Regions from separate parts of the Homo sapiens genome. Here all the other regions are linked to region 3. Evidence: promoter capture Hi-C in 16 types of primary human blood cells and fetal thymus (Javierre and others, 2016). All regions are on one chromosome and are shown on one strand. The core of a region is centred on a gene start or on the middle of the fragment in contact, and the rest is flanking DNA. Distances in the headings are between cores, read along the strand shown. Region 1 holds the start of LOC124903395 (a long non-coding RNA gene). Region 2 overlaps PPP1R13B (protein phosphatase 1 regulatory subunit 13B). Region 3 holds the start of ASPG (asparaginase).

Region 1 (2,700 bases), core at 27-2,526, 460 kb before region 3:
TTCTATATGGGCATTTATTTTGATGGAAAAGCATCTGAGTTGCAGGACGCACTAGCCCTCTTGTAGGCAAACCTGTGGAAGGTCTGGCTATTTGGGTCAGGAAGCTGCAGATAAGTGGGCACCAACCCTCCTGGGATGACAAGGTGAGGCGGTTCCTTGGGCTGGAGACCTGGGCTCTAGGGAGAAAGAAGAGCCAGCTCTGAGCTGGGTTTGCCACTAGGAGAAGGAATAGTCTCTCACACACCATCACTCTCATGGCTGAAGACAGTCTCTGCTCTGCCTCCTCTCCTCGTGGCCCAAAGTAGGGCTGGGCAGGTGGGGAGGGAGGGCTAAGGGTTCCCTATGCACTCCTCAAGCTGTGTCTCACAGTCGCTGTTGGAGGATGTAAATTTTCTCCCACTCATTCAAAACAATCTCACCATTCAAATTAAAAATGGACACAATTAAACAAAGTGTGCCTTTATATAGCTTGATCCTTGGGGCTAACATTTGCCTTTTTGTTGCTAATTTCCAGTTGTATGTCTTACAGTTTTTGCTTTGTAGATTTGGATGATAAATTATTCCCTGCTTAAAGGTTAATCGTTGCTGTGCCCTCATTGGGTCTTTAATTGTTCCTCAGAATCAAATTACTCTTTGTCTCTTTTAGTGCTTTTTGGCTTTATCTGATACTCATTTTACCAACTCTCTTTCTTATTGTTTATGCTTGCCTAACATATATTTGCTTTCCTTTTCTTTTTAACATTTAAGTATTTTATTTTACGTGTACCCTTTGTGAGGAGTGTATATTTGGATGGTTTTCTTTAAATAGTGTTTATTGTCAAAACAGACATGTTTGTTGATACATCTGTTATTTATGCTTTGTTATCCTTTTTCTTTCCCTATCTTTGGCTTTGTGAGCTGTTTTCTTTACTATTTTATTTTTTCTCTAGTGTTTTGGAAGGCCTAGTCCTTATTTGTATTCTTTTGGTGGTAAATTCTAAGTTTAAGTTGGATTTTTGAAAAACAGCTTTTTTGGGGTGTAATTGGCATACAATTAGTGACACATATTAAAAATGGACAATTTGATACGTTTTGACATATATATACATTTGTGAAGCGTCACCACAATCAAGATGTACAAATCCCCGCTCCTAAAGCCTCTTCTTGGCTTTCGAACTCCCTTTCTCCTTCCTCCCTATCTCCTGTGGCTTCATCTCCCCAGGCAACCATGGATCTGCTTTCTGTCACTACGGATTAGTTTGCGTGTTCTAGAATTTTACACACATAGAGTCATGAAATATGTACTCCCTTTTTTGTCTGTTTTTTCACTCAGAATAACTATTTTGAGATTTCTCCATGTTGTCTCACGTATCAACAGTTCATCCGTCTGTTGCTGAGTATGTTCCACTGTATGGATAGAGGAGCAATTTCTCTCTTCATCTGTCGGTGGGCGTTTTAGTTGTTTCCAGGTTTGGACAATTTCAGATGAAGTTGATGTAACATCGATATACAGATATATGTATAGAAAAACCTCCTTTCTCTTGGGTAAAAATACCTATGAGTGGAATGGCTGGGTCATATGGCAGGTGCATGTTTAACTTTTAAAAAAACCTGCCAAACTATTTTCCGAAGTTCTTGCACTGTTTTACATTCTTACCAGCAGTGAATGAGAGCCCTAGTCCATCCACATTCTCACCAGCACCAGGTGAGGGCGGCCACTTTAGCCCCTCTAAGTAGTGTGCAGCTGTATGTCATTGTAGTTTTAATTTGCATTTTTGTAATGGAAAAATAAGTTGAGAATCCTCCAACATGCTCACTGGCCATTCAGATATCATCTTTGGTTAAATATCTGTTCAAATCCTGCCTTATAAATCAAATTGGGACAAATAGAATTTAATAGATCATATCAACATTCATATTAAGTAAAAATGGCCTATACACCCAAATTAAAAGATAAGGATTTTAACATTGGATAAAAAAGCAAGACCTAACTATATGCTGCCTATAAGAAACAAATATTAGCTGTAAAGACACATATACATTTAAAGTAAAGGTATGAGAAAATATGTACTATACTAACATTAGTTAAAAGAAAATTGGTATGGTTATACCAATATCCAAGTAGATTTCAGAACAAACAATATTGTTGGGGTATAAAGAAGGTCATTTCCATAATGACCAAGATGTCAGTTAATCAAGAAGAGTTATCAATCATAAACGTTGATGAACCTAACAATAGAGTTTCAAAACACCTGAAACAAATACTGATAGAACTACGAGGACAAATAGACAAACGAACATTACAGTCTTCTTTCAATAATTGATAGAACAAGTAGGAAAAACTAATGAAAAATAGATTTGAACACTGTCAATCAATTTGACCCAATTGTCATTTATAAGACACTCCACACAAGAGCAGAATATACATTCTTCTTAAGTGCACACAGAACATTTACCAAGATACACTGTATTATGGGCCATAAGTCTCAGTACATTAAAAAGCATTCAAACTATACAAAAGTGTTTTCTCTGACCACAGTGGATTGAAATTAGAAATCAATAACTAAAGGAAATCTGTAAAAACCTTAAATACTTAATTAAATAACACATTTATAAATAATCAATGGTCAAAAAATAAATTAAAATATAATTTAGGAAGTATTTATATTTAACTAAAATGAAAACATATTAGAATTTGTGGGATGCCATTAGAGCAGTACT
Region 2 (2,700 bases), core at 95-2,594, 280 kb after region 3:
AAATTTGTGTCAGGGGAAGGGGGTAGTGCTGAACTCACCCCCGTTACCCTGCAGTGCCACCTTGTGGAAAGAAGCTTTAGCTCAAGCTTGTCCAACCCATGGCACCGGGCCACAGGAGGCCCAGGACAGCTTTGAATGCAGCCCAACACAAATTAGTAAACTTTCTTAAAACATCATGATATATATATGTTTTTTAATGATCTTTTTTTCTAACTCATTGGCTATCATTAGTGTTAGTGTATTTTATGTGTAGCCCAAGACAATTCTCCAGTGTGGCCCAGGGAAGCCCAAAGTTGGGACACCCCTGCTTTAGAGCAAGGGACATCCATTGTTTCTCTAGGTTTGAGTGAAATCTGCCGAATACCACATAGTTATGTTCAAGGCTCCTGACTTTCACACTAATTTTTTTTTTTTTTTTGAGATAGAGTCACTGTCGCCCGGGCTGGCGTGCAGTGGCGTGATCTTGGCTCACTGCAACCTCTGCCTCCTGGGTTCAAGGGATTCCACTGTCTCAGCCTCTGAGTAGCTGGGATTATAGGCAGGTGCCACCACGCCCAGCTAATTTTTTTTTGTATTTTTAGTAGAGATGGGGTTTCGCCATGTTGGCCAGGCTGGTCTCGAACTCCTGACCTCAAATGATCTGTCTACCTTGGTCTCCCAAAGTGCTGGGATTATAGGCATGAGCCACTGTGCCCAGCCTTACACTAACTTTTTTTAAGAATATTTTTCTTCTCTTTGATGTGGACTAATTCAGTGATTAGAGGGGTAAAATATTGTCTTTTCTACAGAGAACTTGAAGATGAGAAAACAGGCAAACACCTACCTGTCATGATTCAAGAAACCTACTATAAAAAGACATTTCGTGGCCAGGTGTGGTGCCTCACGCCTATAATCCCAGCACTTTGGGAGGCCAAGGTGGATGGATCACACGGTCAGGAGATCGAGACCATCCTGGCTAACATGGTGAAACCCCGTCTCTTCTAAAAATACAAAAAATTAGCCGGGCGTGGTGGCAGGCACTTTTTGTCCTAGCTACTTGGGAGGCTGAGGCAGGAGAATGGCGTGAACCCGGAAGGCAGAGCTTGCAGTGAGCCGAGATCGCGCCACTGCAGTCCAGCCTGGGCAACAGCGTGATACTCTGTCTCAAAAAAAAGGGACATTTTACGTATAATTGGGGGAGTTTATTGAGTGCTTCTTACGTGCCAGGCACTGCTTCAGGCACTACTGACACAGCAGGTAATTAACTGAAACTCTGCTCTCAAGAAGCTTATGTGTTCTAGTGACAACAGACAGAGGATAAACAAATATATACATAGATCAGGTGGTGGTTGAGTGCTAAGCAGAAATACATAAACCAGGGTAGGAGGACAGAGGGATGGAGTAGTGCTATTTTAGGTAGACTCTCGGTTAAGGAAAGCTTCCTTGCTAAGACACCATTCCAGCAGAGGCCTGAAAGAAGAGGGTAATACAATGTCAGTAGCTGAGTGAAGCGGTCTATGCAGAGAATAGCAAGTGCAAAGCCCCTGAGGCAGGAGTTGGCTTGCCCTGTTGAGGGAGGCAGAAGGGATGAAGAGTGTGGTAAGCACTGAGATCAGAGAGGTATGCATGTGTGTGTTGCAGGTCTTGCAGGGCCTCTTAGACAATAGTTAGGACTTTGAAATTTATTCTCAGAGAGGAAACCACGGGAAGGTTTTGAATGAAGTGATGTATCTGAAGGGTGAGAGTGGAAACAGATGAATGAGTTTGCTCTTGCAGACATCCTTTCTGAGAGGTGGTGGTGGCTCGGGCTTGGGTAGTAGCCAGGGAGACGAGTTATCAGTTTCTGGGTACGAGGTTGACAGTCTTGCTAATGGATTGTTTGTGGAGTATGAGAGAGAAGGGAGTTGAGCCAATCCTTTATTTTATTCTCCTTTTTCTGTGTGGATGACAGCAACTCCCAGGTGTGTTTTTCAGTCTTTGAGAGGCTAATTGAGGAAAGTGAGATGAAGCATTTAGGGTGATGGCTTAGACTTAGTTTTCCTTACAGCTCTAATGTTTCTGAGATTTTAAATTGGTGAACTGAGTTGCAATCAGGGCCAGAAGGGACCTTAGCATCAATTCTCATTTTGGGGTGCGTGGCCTGCTGGAAAGCTAAAGGGGTCTTCCTGGTGTTCACCCACCCTCACCCCAACTGATCCTTTCTGTGGCTTTTATGAGCTATTTACTCATAACCTACCAAGTGAGTTATTGCAAGTTACTAAAATTTAGTATAGCTTTTATCACCTTATTTCTCTTCAGTTATTTTTTGTTATCCCTGAGCTCCTTTTCCACCAGAAAGAAGTAGTAGATGGTATAGGTGAGCTGGGGGATCTAATACTTTACCTGATTGGGTTGGGCCAGAAAAGCCTGAGAGCCATTTTCCTGCAAATATGTGTTTCATATTATCTGCTGAGTTCTTGCCAAGAAACCAAGACCCAGAGATAGACTAAGGAGCAGCTTCCCCAGCCAGTTGCAGCAGTCAATGCCATAGCTAAGGATAGAACTTGGGCTTCCTATTCCAGGGTTCTTTGTACCATGTAAGTCAAGTTTCTGAATTCCTTTTCTAGAAGTTTTATATATCCTACTTTTTAAAAACAGCTTCATTGTGTTATAATTTATGTGCCGTAAAGTTTACCTATTTTAAGTGAACATTCAGTGATCTTTAGTAAATTTACATAGTTG
Region 3 (2,700 bases), core at 94-2,593:
TGAGCAGCCACTTCAGCAGAAAGGGGTGGCCAGGAGGGGCAGCTGCCAGGGAACAGGCCGTGAGAGGGGGTGGGGATAGGAGGGGCGGGGAAGTGGTTGGCAGATGGGCAAGGGACAAGAGAATGTTCTGGTCATGCCAGGGGAGGCCCTGGGCTCTGGCAGAGCCGGAGAGGGTCCCAGCCGTCCCAGGAGAGAGAGCTGCGCTGGACACAAGCAGGAGTGTGGGGAGGGGCCAGGGCAGCAGGGAGTGGGAGGAGGAGGAGTGGAAAGGGCTCCTGAGGGAAAGGCAGGCAGTGGCCCATGGAGGGTCGCAAACAGGTTCAAGACGGGGCGAGGGGGCTGTCCTGGCCCCAAGGGAGGCCCCACATCACAGCAGAGCCCATCTGGGGGCCCCAGGCAGTGTCCTGCCCTCCTGGGGAACACCCAGGCATTCTGGAGGCTCCAGTGCAACCGTCCTCTCCCCATCCCGGTGGCCTCAGGCTCCCCAAGCTACCATCCTTCCTGTGCCCAGCCCAGGCTGGCAGCACTGTGCTGGAGTACCACAGAGCTCGGTGCCTGTCCCAGGCCCTGACCCCACCCAGGCAGAACTCAGTCCAGACGCAATCGCTGGTCTCTGGTCAACCAGGTCCACACAGGGGCAGAGGAAGCAGGGCTCTGAGGCCACCTCGGGTGTGAACACGTGCGTCCCCGCAGATGCCAGGTAGCCCCAGTATCGTGCCAACCACTGCTGCCTGACCAGGACCCCAGGGGACGGGGACACCCTCCTGGGTGTCGCAGTTGAGGGGTCCTCGCAGCCTCCTAAGCCTTCTCCAGGGCAGCCTCCTAAGCCTTCTGTGTCCAGAGCAGGAGCGGCAGGCCAATGCCCTGGGGCCCTCCCGCCCCATATTCCAGGACTTCAGGACGCTGGCCCTCAGGGGCGCAGCGGCAGCACAGGGGGCCTGGCCCCAGGGTCGCAGGGCGCTCCCGGGAGCACCGCGACGGCGAGAACCCACCGCAATCTCCTCTGTCCAGGTCGGGGCTCCATGCGTGGGGACGCCGGTGGCCGGAACCGGAGGAGAGCGACCTCAGCCCGCACCCCCCATCCAGGCGCGGATTTGACTCCCCAACGACCCCCGTGGGTGCAGGAGGGTCCGAGGCTCCCGGTCGCGGCCAGGTCCAGAGGCCTACCCCGCCCAGGGTCTCGGACTCACCGCCGAGCTCACTCCGCATGCCAATGGTGCCGCCGGTGTAGACGGCCAGCAGCCTCCGCTCGGGCCCCACCGCGCGCGCCATGCCGGACCGGGGACCACGGGAGTGGACGGGGGTGTGCAGCGGGGACGCAGGGCCTGCGGGACTCAGGGACTGCGCGGAGGAGGCCCGGGGCGCCGGGGGCAGCCTGGGAGGGCGGGGCCGGCGGGGGCACCCACGGGGAGGGGGCGGGAGTGGAGTCTGCCCGGGAGGGTGGGAGGCCCCGCGGAGGCGGGCGGGGGCAGGACCTGGGGGCGGGGTGGGTCCCGGGGACTGTCCAGGGTCGGAGAGAGAGGCGGGGCCTGGCGGGGTGGGGGCGGGGCCTGGCGGGGTGCGGGGCGGGGCCTGGCGGGGTGCGGGGCGGGGCCTGGCGGGGTGCGGGGCGGGGCCTGGCGGGGTGCGGGGCGGGGCGCGGCCTTGGAAACGTGTAGGAAGAGGTGAGGTCTGTGAGGGCGGCAGGGGGAGCTCCTGCCTGGGCAGGAGATTGGCTGGGGCCTGCTTGGGGCTGGGGAGCGCCTGTCCAGGGACTAGGGGGCAGCCAGAAAGGCAGCGACAGGGGTGGGGCGGGTCCTGAGCCATCCTGCGGCCATTGGCCCTCCGTGGCGGCCCTGGGTGTTTGAGTAGCTGTGACATGTGGTGCCTGGCAGACCGTAGTGCCCGAGGCCCTCCACGACCTGAGCACAGAGGGGGCTCCGTGTCCTGTCAAGCAGCCTCCACAGCCCCGGGGCTCCAAGGCCGGCATTGCTGCCCAGGCCCTGCTGTCCCTCCTTTGGATGGCCAGAGGCAGGCAGAGCTGGACCAGCCCCTCCACATGTGCCCATTCACACACCATCCAAGAGAAGAGCCCGAGGGGCCCCCAAGGGCTGGAGCGGGACAGAGCAGGAGTATGGCCTTCTTGGACAAACACCGCCATTTTAGGTTCCCTTTGATTAAAAAGCTGCCTAAATCCAGCCCAAAACACATCAGCCCAATAGCTAATGTCAGCACGACCGTAAACCACAAATAACATCTCCAATCAGAAACATGCCAACCTCGAGATAACCTCCCCTCCGACCAGAGACATTCCAAGCCCGCAATAAACTTTCCCTCACATAGAAACATTCCGAGCCTGCGATAAGCTCCCCACTTCCTAAACCCTTAAAGATCCTTAGTCTGTAGGAGAGATGGCTCCTGACCAAAATCGGCCAGAAGTCCCTTTCAGGTTTATTCTCCAAAATAAACCTGCCTTTGTTGAGCCGCTTTTCATGTTTCTTTCCTCTTTCTTTAACTCCTACAGAGCCCACCCTCCTTCACTCCCATGAGAGCCCAGGAGGGCAGGGCACTGGCGGGTGCAGGGTCCCAGGAGGGTCCCAAGCTGCAGGCTTGCTCCCAGGTGGACAGAAGATCCGCGGCCTCCTCGTCTCCTGGCACCTTGACTGCCTGGGGCACTGATGCACTTTGGTGGGAAACTGTGTGTTGCCCCCAGAAGGCACC

What was found. Contacts are between HindIII fragments. The CHiCAGO score rates a contact against its expected background, and 5 or more counts as called.
Region 1: a fragment that was not itself captured here is called in contact with the fragment with the promoter of ASPG in region 3 in 3 of 17 cell types (endothelial precursors, activated CD4 T cells and non-activated CD4 T cells); the score reaches 7.6 in endothelial precursors.
Region 2: a fragment that was not itself captured here is called in contact with the fragment with the promoter of ASPG in region 3 in 1 of 17 cell types (naive B cells); the score reaches 6.0 in naive B cells.

The regions. Positions count from the first base shown.
Region 1 is chr14:104,540,746-104,543,445 of GRCh38, reverse strand. LOC124903395 (a long non-coding RNA gene) reads left to right here and starts at 1,648. Exons shown (of 2, transcript XR_007064361.1): 1 at 1,648-1,684. The HindIII fragment of the contact is 3,308 bases long and covers 1-2,700 here.
Region 2 is chr14:103,805,958-103,808,657 of GRCh38, reverse strand. All of the region lies in intron 1 of PPP1R13B (protein phosphatase 1 regulatory subunit 13B), which reads left to right. Among named protein-coding and RNA genes, the nearest start is that of PPP1R13B, 40 kb to the left of the region's middle. RefSeq lists an enhancer at 1,666-1,765. The HindIII fragment of the contact is 151 bases long and covers 1,269-1,419 here.
Region 3 is chr14:104,084,343-104,087,042 of GRCh38, reverse strand. It overlaps ASPG (asparaginase), which reads right to left and starts at 1,343. Exons shown (of 16, transcript NM_001080464.3): 1 at 1,191-1,343. The coding sequence starts at 1,272. The HindIII fragment of the contact is 21,966 bases long and covers 1-2,700 here.